2 separate regions of the Homo sapiens genome follow, and region 1 is linked to region 2. The links are contacts of gene promoters, found by promoter capture Hi-C in human tissues and cell types (Jung and others, 2019). All regions are on one chromosome and are shown on one strand. Each heading gives the region's core, a stretch centred on a gene start or on the middle of the fragment in contact. The rest is flanking DNA. Distances are from core to core; before and after follow the strand shown. Region 1 overlaps BAZ2B (bromodomain adjacent to zinc finger domain 2B). Region 2 holds the start of TANC1 (tetratricopeptide repeat, ankyrin repeat and coiled-coil containing 1).

What was found. The method cuts DNA at HindIII sites, captures the fragments that hold promoters and counts their contacts. A contact is called where the count stands out against the background at its distance.
Region 1: a fragment that was not itself captured here is called in contact with the fragment with the promoter of TANC1 in region 2 in 1 of the 25 tissues and cell types used here (hippocampus).

What each region holds. Positions count from the first base shown.
Region 1 is chr2:159,427,180-159,429,879 of GRCh38, reverse strand. BAZ2B (bromodomain adjacent to zinc finger domain 2B) reads left to right here. Exons shown (of 37, transcript NM_013450.4): 11 at 620-680; 12 at 1,461-1,569; 13 at 1,838-1,939. Among named protein-coding and RNA genes, the nearest start is that of WDSUB1, 140 kb to the right of the region's middle. The HindIII fragment of the contact is 5,314 bases long and covers 1-2,700 here.
Region 2 is chr2:158,967,025-158,969,890 of GRCh38, reverse strand. TANC1 (tetratricopeptide repeat, ankyrin repeat and coiled-coil containing 1) reads right to left here and starts at 1,251. Exons shown (of 27, transcript NM_033394.3): 1 at 1,109-1,251. RefSeq lists silencers at 1,216-1,295, 1,356-1,465. The HindIII fragment of the contact is 16,038 bases long and covers 1-2,866 here.

The DNA of each region.
Region 1 (2,700 bases), core at 55-2,554, 460 kb before region 2:
CCTCTTGTCAGTTTCTAGCTTTACTTTCATTTACCACATACCAATATGATAGCCTACTAATTTTAGATGAACTTATTTGTGTTTGTGAAACTTGATCTCGGTCTTAGAAAATTTTTACATAAAATCATAATCCTGTTCCTTGGTGGCTTAGGTTAATTAAAAGACCTGGTAGTGTTTTTGACTATGGATTTATATGGACATAGAAATTAAATCGTCTTTAAATATATGAGCCAGCTGTTGAAATTTTTCAGCATCCAAAAACTCCTATTTTCAAAGTCAACAGTTTAAATAGATTTTCTGAAACCTCTATTTCTCTCCTGCTTCTCTAGCCATTTCTTTAATAATAAAATGAGAGGAAAGGTGTATATTTTTACCTTGGATTGTATTTTCTTTAGAGAGAAAAACTAGTTATCCTGTCATTCAGACCCAAAAGAAGAAAAAAGCCCCCTGCCTTATACAGTGTTTTATTGAAAACCATCTAAAAATAATGTATAAATTACAGAAATACACTAAATCCAAGTTATTAACATATACTTTTTTAAAGAAAAGTTTCTAAACTATCAATATTATTATTTATATTAATGAATGTTTTATATTAACCAATTGAATTTTTTTAAAGGCACTTCCAAAAGAAGAAGAGTAACAGATGAACGTGAACTGCGTATTCCATTGGAATATGGGTATGCAAAATAAGGTTTTCCTTTTTCTTTTTCCCCCATATATTTATGCAAGTTTGATGTATACTTGATTTCTCATTCTCTACAATTAATAGAAGAAGTACATAGCTGCATAGTATTTATTAGAGCAGAAGAGCCGGAGCAAAGGGCAAGGAATTTGGTATATCAGAAAACTGAAATTAATCCTGTTTCCTGGAGGTATGGCAGAGCTGGGGTGGGATGATACAGCCAAGTAGGAACATGACTGAAAAAGAACCAAGAGCAAATCAGATGGCAAAGGGCAGGAGTACATGAGACTGTGAGAAGTTTTTGTGAAGATAGAATTAAAGGACAGTAAAAGCCACTTTGGTCAAAATTGAGGGACTCAACCAGAGTTTGGCTAAAATGGTTTAATTAGAAATGACAGCTTTTAGACTGGATGTACGTGAACCCCAAGCAGCAGAGAGCCAGGTTTACTTTACTCCTCCCTTAAAGCTTTTCAGATGTAAAAAATCAGTACACATTAACATGTTACTGAAATGTCAGAGTACCCAAAGTAATCAAGTATGATTTCTAAAAATTTTGATGGAGTTTAATATATAAATTGAATAATTAATTTTCTAGTTGAATTAGCTAAAAATCTAAATAATTTTGAGAGTTAATGTATTTGGGTTGTTTGAGGAGTTTATTTTTGTTTTCATTTTTTATGTTTTCTAGAGAACATGTATACTTTAACTTATTTTTAATTTTTAAAAGCTTTCTTGAAATTAAGTATGTCATAACCTTCATTTCTGTTATGTGTAGCTGGCAGAGAGAGACAAGAATAAGAAACTTTGGAGGGCGCCTTCAAGGAGAAGTAGCATATTATGCTCCATGTGGAAAGAAACTTAGGCAGTACCCTGAAGTAATAAAGGTACATACTTTTCACCAAATAATGTACATTTGGTGCCTATTAAGCATGATCATGTACAAAAAAAAAGTGTACTCCTTTCTCAGATAAAGTTCCTTGATACTAAATATTCTCTTGTATGGGACTATTGTACTTAACCTAAATTGATCTCCTATAAATTTAGAGCCCCTTGATAGAATATGCAAAACATTAGTGTCCTGAAGCTAGCTATACATCAAAGCTGGGTTGTAATTATTAAAACCTGAAGTGGAAAAATATGTGATTTTTTCAGTATCTCAGCAGAAATGGAATAATGGATATCTCAAGGGACAATTTCAGCTTCAGTGCAAAAATAAGAGTGGGTGACTTCTATGAAGCCAGAGATGGACCGCAGGTATCCACTTTTTAAAAAGTATAGTCTTTGAACCAAAAAGTAGTACCATAACCTAAATGAAGTAAATTTCACTACACTCTGGAGCATTGCCTTTCTTTAATTAGTTCATATGGCTATACATATAACTTTGTGGTAAGCACTCATTAAGGCCTCAATTAACTATGTTTCAGTAACAAGGAGCTTTGACATAATAGGTATCTTTTTCATATTTAAGTAAATTTTTTCTGTTTATTAATTCAACCAATAACTTTACAGTTTATATAGGTATAAAAGCATCTGCATCTTCATATGAAATATAGGAAAACATTAGTTTTCTGAAAAGTACAGCTAGTTTTAAAAACTAATTTGAATATGAAGACCCTATTATTATAAGTCAGTCCAAAAGAGGATATGTATGCCCTAGTGTTTTGGAAGAATCTTGTCCATTTGATTATGCCACGCTATATGATGCATTTTCACAAGTTTGATAAGTTTTTTTTTGTCATTTCTTAAAATTAGGTGAATGAAATTTCTGGTTTTTGCAGAAATTCAGTTTTTACATTAAGTGGTACACATTTCTGAACATATCACCACAGCTCCCTTTGAGCTTACAGTGTTAAGTACACATCCTCACCAGTCAGCAAAAAGAACCCACCAAGGAGATCTCATTTCCTGTATGTTTTCTTTAATGCTTTCCCTTTGTTCCTTAGTTGTATTCAGCTGCATGTGCTTATTATTCCCTTTAGCTGCATTGAAAGGGGTCCCAGTTAAGGAGTGATGAG
Region 2 (2,866 bases), core at 2-2,501:
ACGCCACTGAGAACGGTCCCAACACTGGAGGCACGCGGATCTGGAGCTGGCAGGAGGGGGCTGGGAGAAGGCCGTTGCCGAGCCTGGCGTCCTCCGCCCCTTGGCCGCAGCGCCGCGTTTCTACCTGGCCAACGCCACATTTCCTCCCGGAGCTTTACACAATAAGTCCAGTAAGTTTTGAGAACACCGGTCCAGGGACCTTTCTGTCTGCAAACACACCACACAATGCCTAGAGCTTCCTTCCCAGCCAGGCGTTCCGGAAAGCCGCCGCGCCAAAGCCGGGAGCCCCGCACACCCACAGCGCTGCGCGCCCGCACCCCAAAGTCCTCCAGGAAGCCAGTGCCCTGATATCGTCCCCCGAAAATGACCACTCTGCATCCAAGAACAAGGGGGCTCACAATCTTGACAATTACCGCTCTTCTCAGCGCCCCACCCCTAAAGAAAAACCCCCAACGTCTAATCCTAACTCACCCCCACCCCCAATAAAGGAGTGTGGATATGCTAATCGCAGTGTTCTTGGAAGCAAAGCAATAGACTTTCAGCCCAGACTGGGGCAATACCATGCCTCCGGCTTAAGTTCTCTCGGCAACTTCGCGACCCGCGCACCCCAACACTCCGGGGGGCGCCCAGGACCCCGCGGTGCCAGGCGCGCCTCCCCCCGCCTCCCCCGCGCCAGGTACCAGGCGTAGCCCAGGCCCTTGCCAAGCCCGAGGGCTACAGAGAAGGCGGGAAAGGGGGCGAGCGGGCGCGCCGGGCGGGGGTGGTCCCAGAACTCGAGCGTGCCCCAAGCGTTCCCGGTTCCCACCACACCGGTTCCAGGGGAGGCCGGCTCGGTCCGGCGCGGGGGAACCGCGCAAGGAAGGTGCGGACTCCCCAAAGCCGCCGAGAGACCAAGGCCCGGGGCGCCCAACATGTCTGTGCCTATTCCCGGAAAGCTCCCGGGTGTGCCCGGCGGAGGAGGGGGCGCTCCAGAAACTTTCCCACACGCCTTTCCCTTCTCCCATCACCCTCTCCACCCCGGGTCCCTCTCGACCTCTCCGCACACTGGCAGCTGGCCATGCCCGGGGCGCTCGCAGGCCCGCGGCGGAGTCCGGGCTGCGGGAGTTACCTGCCGGGAAAGTTTCCAGCTCCTCAGCGCGGTTCCCCACACCCAGGGCCGGGCCTCGGGGCGAGGCCAGCTCGGCGCTCCGCGGCTGCCTCTCCTCCGGCTCCCGAGGCGGCCGCCGCTCCAGCAGCTGCCACAGCAAAGCCTCCGCTCCGGCCCGTCCCCCCGCCTTGCTCGGCCCACACCGGGGCCTCATTGGCAGCGCGAATCCCCGCCCTTGCGCGTGTTCCCGAAGGCACCTTCCTCTCGCGCGCCCGCCCCGGCCGCGCCTCCCGCGCCCCTCCCCGCCCCGGGCTGCGGCGGATCCAGGGACCGGCTGGAGCGCGGAGCGCGAACTTTCCGCGGGGCTTGGGCGCGAGGTCCCCTTGTCCCGCCTCTCGGCGCCAGGTCCGGGCCTGAAGCACCCTACCATCCCTCTGGGCACCGGGTCCCCCGGGGCTGCGCCTAGGCCCCTCTGGGACCAAAATGAGATGGGCCATAGTCTTTTTTACAGCCTCTTCAAAATCAATAAAGCGACCCGGCCTTCCCTCCTCGCTGCTTTTTTACCACAGCCGAGGAGGACATATGGGAGCAATTAACCGAGCTGGAGTTTCCGTGGACGCTTTGGGGTGGCTTGTGCGGCTTTCTTGGATTTTCTCTGCCTCACTTAACTACACACAAACACAAACACACTTTCTGGGGCCAGAATCAGCTAAATGAGCTGGAAGGTCTAAGAAGGCATCTCACCGGCTGCGTCTTTTTATTTCCCAAAAGGAATGGGGGACGTTCTGGGGCCGGTGATTTCCCGGGCGTCCCTGGGGCCGCGGGTCTGGAGCCTCCTGCGACCGCTCCGGGCTGGCCCGTGCTGTCTGCGCTACATTCACAGAGGGCCAGCGTCGTGCTTCTGTCGGAAGGAGGTGGGAGGGACGGAGGGGAGAGAACACACAAAGATGCTATTATTTTGTCGGTTGGTGGCAGTAAATTAAACTCCTGAGTTCCCAAAATGTTTTGTTATTCTCCAGCAGAGCAAAAACCAGGATAGGGACTAGGGATTCGGGTGTCCTGGGTTCTCCAAGATCCTCCCAGGAATCCCAGGCAGCCAAATTGGCCTAAGGGACTCTGCTCACTTAATACCCGAAGCTCTCTAAGACAGCCTTCGTTGATCTAGTTGACGAAGGAAGGATCAACTAGAACTGCCGCTGCCTTGTGTGGCCAGCGGGAATTGTGCACGGGTCACCCCATTGGTGTGTCTGGAGCAGAGAATAGAGAAGTTGCTGTAAACCGATTTATTGGTAACCCCTAACCTTGCTGTGGCAAACCCGCCTTAAAATACGATTGTGTTTTAAACAAGTTTCCTCATAAAAACTTCAACCTCACGCAGAGCTTCCCTATATAAAGACACCAGCAGGAGGGGTGTCCATATTTAAAGTTCTTATGAAAAGGGACAGGAAGCAAAATGCCACACAATCTCTTTTCATAAATTAAAAAGACTGAAATGGACTGGATTTTTCACCCATAGTTTCAAAGGCCTGATTACTGCTGTGTTGATATTTGAGCAGTAAACACATCAGCGGCCTTGAAGTATTCCCGAAACAAGGCAGGATAGAATATTGAAAATAAAAATACAAACTTAAACCAGAAAACTATTGACTTCTTTCTCCATCTGAAATGTTTCATTGCTGAAAAATATGGTAATGTTTTATTTAATTTATCTTGAAACGAAATCTTTCAACAGACAAAAAAGCCAGACAGCAACCTTAATGATAAAAGAATGATGCAAAC